2 separate regions of the Homo sapiens genome follow, and region 2 is linked to region 1. Evidence: promoter capture Hi-C in human tissues and cell types (Jung and others, 2019). All regions are on one chromosome and are shown on one strand. The core of a region is centred on a gene start or on the middle of the fragment in contact, and the rest is flanking DNA. Distances in the headings are between cores, read along the strand shown. Region 1 holds the start of HSPB6 (heat shock protein family B (small) member 6). Region 2 has its middle 7.3 kb from the start of SDHAF1.

What was found. The method cuts DNA at HindIII sites, captures the fragments that hold promoters and counts their contacts. A contact is called where the count stands out against the background at its distance.
Region 2: a fragment that was not itself captured here is called in contact with the fragment with the promoter of HSPB6 in region 1 in 2 of the 25 tissues and cell types used here (dorsolateral prefrontal cortex and spleen).

What each region holds. Positions count from the first base shown.
Region 1 is chr19:35,755,084-35,759,871 of GRCh38, forward strand. HSPB6 (heat shock protein family B (small) member 6) reads right to left here and starts at 1,946. Exons shown (of 3, transcript NM_144617.3): 1 at 1,728-1,946; 2 at 689-811; 3 at 1-600. The coding sequence starts at 1,925. The coding sequence ends at 439. It overlaps PROSER3 (proline and serine rich 3), which reads left to right and starts at 3,093. Exons shown (of 11, transcript NM_001367856.1): 1 at 3,093-3,143; 2 at 4,291-4,387; 3 at 4,706-4,788. The coding sequence starts at 3,133. RefSeq lists enhancers at 2,198-2,769, 3,098-3,337, 3,378-3,437. The HindIII fragment of the contact is 17,144 bases long and covers 1-4,788 here.
Region 2 is chr19:35,985,570-35,990,290 of GRCh38, forward strand. No RefSeq gene overlaps it. Among named protein-coding and RNA genes, the nearest start is that of SDHAF1, 7.3 kb to the right of the region's middle. RefSeq lists an enhancer at 1,374-1,433. The HindIII fragment of the contact is 5,281 bases long and covers 804-4,721 here.

The DNA.
Region 1 (4,788 bases), core at 696-3,195:
CTGGGGTTGGGGGAGGGCTGTCTACACCATAATTTGGTGTCAAAATAGGGAAGGGATGGAAATGTAGTACCCGGATGTCTTTGTAGAGGACTCAGAAGGAAGTAGAGGAGGGGTCTTAAGTGGGGCTATATGCCAAGAAAGTGGGTCGGTGGGGCTGAGACTGTCGGCTGAGGGTTAGGGTAGTGCTGGTAGGGTCTGGAAGCCGGGGAGTTGTCGGTGTGGGGTCGGAAAGCTGGAGGGGGTGTGAGAGCGAGGGTGTCAGTGGAAGGGTCTATGTTATCAAGGCAGTGTCCAGGATGGAGGTCAGGGCAGAATCCAGGAGTGGGTGAGAGGACAGTCCTTGGCGCACTCGGGACATCTGGCTGGGCGGAGTCAGATCGGCTTTAATAGAGGGAGCCTGAGGAGGCTCCCGGGGTGCGGGCGCGGCCCAGCCCCCTCCTACTTGGCTGCGGCTGGCGGTGGGGCCTGGGCCGACGCTGGTGCGGCCTGGATGGACAGGACGCCCTCGGGGGACAGCGCGGACGTCACGGCAGCCGGATCCACGCCAGGCGGCAGGCGGTAGCGACGGTGGAACTCGCGCGCGACGAATCCGTGCTCATCCTGGAGGGGAGGGAGGCTTGAGCGGCCCCGCCCCTCCGGCCCGGCGGCGAGCGTACCCGCTCCAGCCCCGCCCCACGCCGCGGCTCACCGGGCGCTCCTCGTGGCGCGCGTGCACCTCCACGTGTTCGCCCACCACCTTGACAGCAATTTCCTCCGGCGAGAAGTGCTTCACGTCTAGCAGCACCGAAAAGTGGCCGGGGTCCGTCGGCACCTGAGCGCAGCGGGCGCGGGCGGGACTGTCATTGGGCTGGGCCAGGCTCCAGGACCCACCCAGGGAGACCCCACCCCCGTCGGTTCCGTGCCGCGGCTCACTCTGGCCTCCGGAGTTGAGCAGTCAGCTCTCCTACTGGGAGTCACCCAGGACCTCTTCACCCTGAACAACAGGGATACGCCCTCCCCCTGTAATATCTGGGATTGCCCTCTCCCCCGCAGTGATGAGGCTCCCTTCCCCTGCAAGGTCAGGAACCTCTGCCCTCCCCCGGTGTCAGCGAATCCGAAGTCATCGTGCCCCCCAGGGCACTGATTCCCCAGCTCCCTCCTCAGAGCCCCGGGTCCCTTCTCCGCCAGCCCCGCCAAACTCGCCAAGATGCCCCTTTCCCCGTCTCCAGGGTCCTCTGCCTACTCTCCCACTCGAGTCACGGGACCTCGGCAGCTACTGGTAGCCTTCCCCCACTTCAGAGTGGCCGGGAACCCTTCCTCAAGTCGCAGGGCCCTCTCCCCTCCTCTTCTGGAGATATCGGGCCACCGCACACAGTCTCTCAACTCTTCCCCGAGACTAAGAACATTCCTTCCCCTCAGGAGTCACTGCCCGCCTCCTTTTCCCCAGATTTCCCGGATCACCAGCCTCCTTCAGAGTAAGCAAGACTCCCCTTAGAGTGACCCAGGCCTTCCATTCTCTGGAGAGCTGAGAGCCCCCCACCCCGCCCCCCACCTAAGAGCGACGGGGACCTCCCACCCGCTGCAGTGTGCGGGCCTCAGATTCCCATTGACTCCGGAAGCCCTTCGGAGCTGCGGACTCTCCACCCCGCCCAAGGCCAACGAACATTCTCTCACATGTTCCCACCCCAGGCTGCCCCAGACCCCTGGCAATGGAAGTGGTCGAGTTCACCCCTCCCCAGGCCTGGCACCTGGGCGACGGGCAGCGCCACGCTGGGTGCGCGCAGGTAGTAGGGGGCGAGCGTGGTGGGGCAGAGCGCAGCCAGCTCGGCCTCCAGCAGCCCCTCGCCGAAGCGCTGGTCAAAGAGGCGTCCGGGCGCCGAAAGTCCGGGCAACGGGGCCGAGGCGCGGCGCAGCCAAGACGGCTGCACAGGCACAGGGATCTCCATCCTGCTCCTCCGCGTTGCAGTGCCCCTGCGTGCGCAGCCGCTCATTTATAGTGCGCCCTGTGCCGGCCCCTCGGAGGGCTGCCCAGGGACACTGGGACCGTGGCCAGACCCGGCCATTAGGAGAGCCTTATTTAGAAACCCAAACAATGACTTGGCCATTTATTAAGCGCCTGCTGGATGCCTGGCAAATGCTGTCAAGAAGGTGACATGAAGATTCCCCAATTTCCAGAAGAGGAAACTAAGGCTGAGGAGGGGGAGCCTTGCGGGTGTGGGGAGCACAGCGTGGTGATTGGGGCCCAGGACCCAAGAGGCCCACGGAAGAGTTTCCAGTCCCTTTAATCCACTGCCTCCCCCCTGGCAGCTCTGAGGATGACGCAGATGGAGGTCTTTAGGAGCAGATTCCTGGAGAATGCGGTAGCCCCGCCAGGATGTCAGGAGGACATAGAACAGGCCCTCCCTACCCTTATCCTCAGCCAGACCTTGGGCCCAGTCCCCCGGCAGGCCGGGCCTAATTCTGTGCCTCTGACTCAGCCTCTGGTGCGCAGAGGCCAGGGGGCGCGAGCATGAACAGTTCAGGCTGGCCCCCCGGGGGCCGCGCGCTGGGGCTGGAAATAGCTCATTTTGATCCCGCTACCTCGGCCAGGAGCCCAGACCTGGCAACTGATGCAACCAGCTGCTCCTGCAGCAAGAAAGAAGTTAGATGACCGTTGGGACGGACTGATTGGCCCAACTGATGGAGGAATAGCGGTTAGAGAGAGGGCAGAGCGCGCCCCCCCCCCAACCCGCCCCACTGCCCCTGCAACAGAAAGAATGGTAGTTAGACCGGGGTCGGGACAGGACTTCTGCAGCAAGAAGGCGCTTAAAAAGCGGGACTTTTAAGCGAGGGTACTTTAGATCACCTCCTAACCGCAAGCCCAGCCTCAGATCCTTCCCATTGGTGCACGGTCTTGCCAATTACTGCTACACTCGGCAGGTTCTCCAATCAAACACGCCCTGTCGGGCAGGCAGTCGTCCCAGCCAATCCTGAAACACCTCCCTCCGGGTACTTCTGTTTCCTCTCTTTCATTGGTCGCCTTGGAGGCCGCTCGCCTCCGGCGCGGGCACAGAGAGGGGCGGGGCTGATAGGGCGTTGCTAAGCGACGGAGATGCGCGCGGGGCCTGTTGGGTGAAGGAGCAGAGCGGCCGGAAGCGCGGAGGGAGCCGCGGGATGGACCGCAGGTGAGGCCGATCGCTCTTCCAGGGACTACAGGAGGCTGGGGAGGACCAACGGCGAGAGCAGCACAGCCTAGGACGGGCTGGATACGGTCTGGAGTCGCTAGGGCTCCACCGCACTGGAACTACAATTCCCAACATGCTCCACAGCCGTTGGCCTCTCCAGCCGTAGCCGTTAGCATCCCGGGGGTCCCCTAAGAGTCTTATGTTCCTCTCTGAGTGGGCCCCAAGGAATTATTGCCTCTAAAGGTGTCCAAGAAAGGCTTGAGATCTGAATTTCTTCATTTTGAAATGGCCCCCAGACACGCCTGGGCGTTGTCTTTGAACTTTCTCGCGGAGGCGGAGCCCAGTGGATCCTGGGGCTTGTAGTCCATCTACCCTTTGCCTTCGTGTCCCCCAGGAATGTATGGGAAATGCTCGGTGATATAATCCAGCCGCGGTTCTTTCTTTCTTTCTTTTTTTTTAAGACAGAGTCTCTCGCTCTGTTGGCCCAGACTGGAGTGCAGTGGCACAATCTTGGCTACTGCAACCTCTGCCCCCGGGTTAAAGCAATTCTCATGCCTCAGCCTCCCAGGTAGCTGGGACTACAGGCACCTGCCACCGCGCCTGGCTAATTTTTTATATTTTTAGTAGAGACGGGGTTTCGCCATGTTAGTAAGGCTGGTCTCGAACACCTGACCTCAAGTGATCCACCCGCCTCGGTGTAATCCCAAAGTGCTGGGATTACAGGCGTGAGCCACCACGCCCGGCGAGCCGCGATTCTTAACCTGAACTCCACTTCGCAATCACCTGGGACGCTGCGGAAAAGACACGGAGGCCCAGCCCCACTAATAGATATTCTGATTCTGTTGGTCTGGAATGGGAACCGCGCGCCTGTAACGTTGAAAAGCCCCTCCTAGACTGGATCCAGGGTTGAGAACCACCGGCTGTCAGTTCCTGAGTTGCTCCCTGTTAAGACTGCTCCAGGGGCGGGCTCCCAGGACTCACCCTTCCACTGTCGATATCCTGAATGTGCAACGGTGCTTCATGGAAATGACAGTCCGTCTCCTCCAGGAATCTATGGGAATTGTCTGGTTCTGCCCTCCTCTAATGTCCCCCTCCCCAGGGCTGCGGCGAAACCACGTGCTGCCTGAACCCCACTTTCCTCTTGCAGCCTGCCAGTTTTCTCCATTCAAGATAGTCCCTTTGGAGATGCGCCCCTGGGTCGAAGCCACTACTGGCCATCCCAGAGCCAGACCTGGTGTCCCAAGGTGAGGACACCCCTCAAAGAGTGCTGAGTGCCAGCCCAGTAGCAAGAGAATGACCTTTAGAGGGTAGGAAGACATGTGATGAGAGATAGGGATGAGAGATTTAAGAGACAGCCCCTTGTCCCCTCCCCACGGCCCTGCCCTTGTCCCCCTCTCTACCACCTGGATTCCCCATCTGAGCCCCCATCACACTAGGTTGTTATCATTACAGGATGTGTTTCCTCCCCTCTGGACTGAGACTTTGTGTGTGTCCTGGTTCCCCTGCAGGGATGACCCATGAGACCTCACACTTTTTCTTCTTGTGCTCTTCCCTGATCTTAGACCCTGAGCCCATCCAGGTCTCAGAGATCCAGGCTCCCACAAGCTCCCAAGGCTCTAGCCACAGGTCCCAACTCCCCTGAGCT
Region 2 (4,721 bases), core at 2,194-4,693, 230 kb after region 1:
CCATTAACCTTGAACTGCCATCCACAAACCCAGCAGCGTTTGTCAGTCACTGACTACCCTTCTGACTCCACCCCCATTTACTCTCCAGGGGAGCCCCCATTGTCGCCCAAAGCCACTAAGCCTCGGTCCTCAGTGATCCACGGAGTTGTCCATCCCTTCCTCCATTGCCCTTTTCTAGATCCTCCCCTTGCCCCCCGCTGCTGGCCCCTCTTCACTGACTCTTATCCATTCTCTTATTGCCCCTCATTGAACTTCCACTGACCTCTCATCAACTCTGGCCATCCAACCACTCTGCCATGGATCCCCCTTTGAATCCTATACTGACCCCCCATTGAGCCCCAAGCTTACCTCCCACCAAATCCTCCTATGATCCCTAATGACTCCCCCCATTAACCAGCCACTAAGGTTCTCTTTGACCCCTCTCTGATCCTTTCTGCTGACTCCCCCACTACTCAGTGACCATCTCCTGCTGCTGTTCAACCTGCCTGCATGCCCTCTGTGTAGGTAGACGGAATTTGGGAATCGCTGCCCTTCTCTTATGGCCACCACCTCCACACCCAACTTTGGGGCTGCCAGCTGTACATGGACACAGACTTTGGCCTCTTGCTATGACTGGGACAGCCTGGCACTTGTGATGCTGCCATGGCCATATGGACCCTACCTGTGTAGACTCTGGCCCCAGTGACCCTATTACATCCTTGCCCAATGCCCGGAAGGTTGCTAAGTTGCCAGGTTGCAGCCAGGTCTGTGGGCCCCTCTGCCCTGGATTTTGCCAGATGGCCGTGCATGCCCTATTCACCAGGAATGGGCAGTGAGTGTGGCTGGCAGTGGCGGTGGATCCCTTGGAGCCCGGCTATGCAGCACTGTGACCAGGCCCATTCCTCAGCAAGTGCCTGGCCCACTGTGTGCCACCAATACAGCGCCCACTGAACCATATACTGGGCCCTGGCTGCCTACACTGTGGCTTGCAGGGCTCTGGGAGTCTGCCTTCTGTCACGAGTGTGCTTTCGAGAGAGGGGTAAGCTCTGAAGAGCCCTGACATGGGCCACCAGGGGACGGTCGCGTCAGGACCAACAGAAGTTCAGGCCTGGGCAGTGGGGCTAGGCGAGGAAGGGTGGGTACTGGAGAACAGTTAGGACCAGATTAGATGCGGCAAGACAGGCAGGGGTATGACTTGATTTGATTGGTCTGGTTTGATTAACAAGGTCTTTTTAAAATTTTTAACAATTTTTATAGAGACAGGGGTCTCACTATGTTGCCCAAGCTTGCCTCGAATCCTTGGGCGCAAGCGGCTCTCCCTCCTCAGCCTCTTAAAGTGCTGGGATTACAGGCGTGAGCCACAGCGCCCGGCCTGATTAACAAGGTCTTTCTGTCTTTTATGCCTCTTTTTTCGGTGTCTCTATGTCTCCTCCGTGCCGCTGGCTCTCTGCATGTCTCTCTTTCTGGACCTCCCTCTGCCCCGCCCCTTCCCCTGTTCCCGTTCCCCTTCTCTCGGTTCCTCGTTGTTTCTTCCCCGGGCACACCCGTGCTGCTCTCTGCGGGCATCCTCCATCTCCGCCTCCCCCATCCGACCCTGGCTATGTCTCCCCCACCTCTCTCTGTCTCTGTCCCTGACCCTCCCACCCCCGCGGCCCGCCCCAGCTTTGCGGTGCCCGCTGCGTTCGCGCTGAGCTGCGCGCTACCTGGCCACATGCGCGGGTGACAGCCCTGCCGGGAGCGCTGAGTATGCGGCCAGGGCTTCCCGCTGAGCGGCGCCTCTGAGTGCCCGCAGCCGAATGCGGCTGCTTCCTTGCAGGCGGACACCCACCGCTGGGCACCGTCTGGTACCCTGCCCCTGCGGCCCCCGCCCCCGCGCTCCGCCCCTGTGCTCTCCCTTGCTGGCCCGCACCATTCCCGGGCTCAAAAAAATAAATTAAAAATTAGGCGGGGGGGGGGGGGGGTGGTGCGCGCCTGTGTTCCCAGCTGCTCAAGAGACTGAGGTAGGAAGATCCTTAAGCCCAGGAGGTCGAGGCTGCAGTGAGCCATGGTGGCGCCACTGCACTCCAGCCTAGGCAACAGAGCCAGACCTCGTCTCTAAAAGAATTAAATAAAATTAAAAAGTGTATGTCTTTAAAAGATAAGGGTGTTTAGGCCAGGCACGGTGGCTCACTCCAGTGATCCCAACCCTTTGGGAGGCCGAGGCGGGCAAATCACTTGAGGTCAGGAGTTCGAGGACAGCCTGGGCCAACATGGTGAAACCCTGTCTCTATTAAAAACACAAAAATTAGCCGGAAGTGGTGGTGCATGCCTGTAGTACCAGCTATTCAGGAGGCTGAGGCAGGAGAATTGCTTGAGCCCAGGAGGTGGAGGTTGCAGTGAGCCGAGATCGTGCCACTGCACTCCAGCCTGGGCAACAGAGCAAGAGTCTGTCTAAAAAAAATAAGAAAAAAGAAAAAAGACAAAAAAAAAGATAAGGGTGTTTAGCAGAGTCAGCTAGATGGTGGGGATGGAGTATAGGAAGGACAGGCATGACTGAGTAGAGACAAGATAAAGGGTTATGGCCTGGTGCGGTGGCCCACGCCTGTAATCCCAGCACTTTGGGAGGCCAAGGCAGGTGGATCACGAGGTCAGGCATTCAAGACCAGACTGGCCAAGATGGTGAAACCCCGTCTCTACTAAAAATACAAAAATTAGCTGGCCATGGTGGTGCGTGCCTGTAACCCCAGCTACTTGGGAGGCTGAGGCAGAGAACTGCTTGAACCTAGGAGGCGGAGGTTGCAGTGAGCCAAGATTGCGCCACTGCACTCCAGCCTAGGTGACAGAGTGAGACTCTGTCTCAAAAAAAAAAAAAAAAAAAAGGTAACAGGTTATTAGCAGGGTCGGGAAATGAATGATGGTAATCTAGACTCTTGATGGTTACAAAGCAGAGATAAGTGATCATTTAAGCAATAGAGAGAAGGTGGAATTGATACTTTGGTAAGTCATTCCTTTCCTCACCTAGAATGTTGAACACATATTACCAATGTGCTAGTGACTGGCTATGATGTTTTTTGTTTGGTTGGTTTTTGTTTTGTTTTGTTTTTGGAGACAGAATGTTACTCTGTCACCCAGGCTGGAGCATAGTCATGTGATCACAGCTCACTGCAGCCCCAAATTCCTGGGCTCAAGTGATCCCCCCGCTTCAGCTTCTGGAGTAGCTGTGACTACAGGCATGCCCCACCATGCCATCCTAATTTTTGTAGAGATGGGGTCTCAGTATGTTGCTCAGGCTGGTCTCAAACTTCTGGGCTCAAGGGATCCTCCTGCCTTAGCCTCCCAAAGTGCTGGGATTACAGATGTGAGCCAACATGCCCGGCCAATTTAGTGTTTTATTTAGTGCTTTTCATGTGCTCAGCACTGTTCTGAGGAATTTTCATGAACCATCTCATCTAATCCTTATTGCAACTGTATCAGTCAGCTAATGCTGCATAACAAACAACCTCAAAATCTTAGTGACTTAACCCCAGGCAGCTTCCTAACTCATGTGTCTGTGGGTTGGTTGGCATTGGCCGATCTTAGCAGGGGTCATGAAGCACTTACCATATGCCTAGCATAGGTACTCTTTTTTTTTTTTTTGAGATGGAGTCTCAGTCTGTCGCCCAGGCAGTGCAATGGCACCATCTTGGCTCACTGCAACCTCTGCCTCCCAGGTTCAAGCGATTCTTCTGCCTCAGCCTCCTGAGCAGCTGGGACTACAGGCCTGCACCACCACACCTGGCTAATTTTTGAGTTTTTAGTAGAGATGGGGTTTCTTCATGTTGGCCAAGATGGTCTCGAACTCCTGGCCTCAAGTGACCCGCCCACCTCAACCTCCCAAAGTGCTGGGATTACAGGCATGAGCCACCGCACCCAGCCTGAAGTAGGTACTCTTGTCCTTCCATGTTACAAACACAGAAACTGAAGTTCAGAAAGGCTAAGTCCCTTGTCCAAGTCTCACCCTCATTTGTGGCGCAATGAGGAGGGACATCCAGGTTTCAGGGAGGCATGGGAGCAGGTTCAGCCTCCTCAGCCCCAGTCCTGACCCCTTACCTCCCCTGCAGGTGGATGGTGAGCACTACTGGCTGCCCTGGGCACTGCCAGGGGGCTGGGGTTGGCCGCCTTGGAGGGCCACCATGCCATGGTGCACATGGCCTGTGGGCTGTATCTCATGTACACCTGGGGAAGCTCATGGTGCCTTCTGAATTCTAAGGCGAGCTGGCGGGGCTCCATGGGTCCTTTGGAGGCAATGTTGGCCTACTTGACCTGCCTCTGGATACCGTGTCCTGGTCCAAGGGCCTGATCACTATCCACTGCCCACTGACCCAGCCCAACCATGGCTTTCATGTCAGCTGCCCACATGACTTGCCCAGATCTTCAAAGCTCCCAAACTGTGTGGCCTCCTGCATGTGCCGGATGGCCCCTTTAACCACTGTGTGGCCCACATCAACAAGCCCTTCCTTAGTATATGCCTGCAGGATGCGTGTCATCCCAGTGGCCAGCACCGTGGTCTCTGTGACACTCTCACAGGCCATACTGCAGCAGCCAGGAGCCTGGGAACCCTGTGATGCCCTGGAGGGGCCCCAAGCATTGCCATAAGTGCTCTGGCTTGGTCTGGGGTGCAGGCAGGGCAGACTATGGGTTGGCTGGAAGAGCCCCTTCCCCTGGTGGGAGTCCAGGAAGAATTCCTAGCATAGGTGGAATTGGTGGAGGAGAATGTGTGGGAA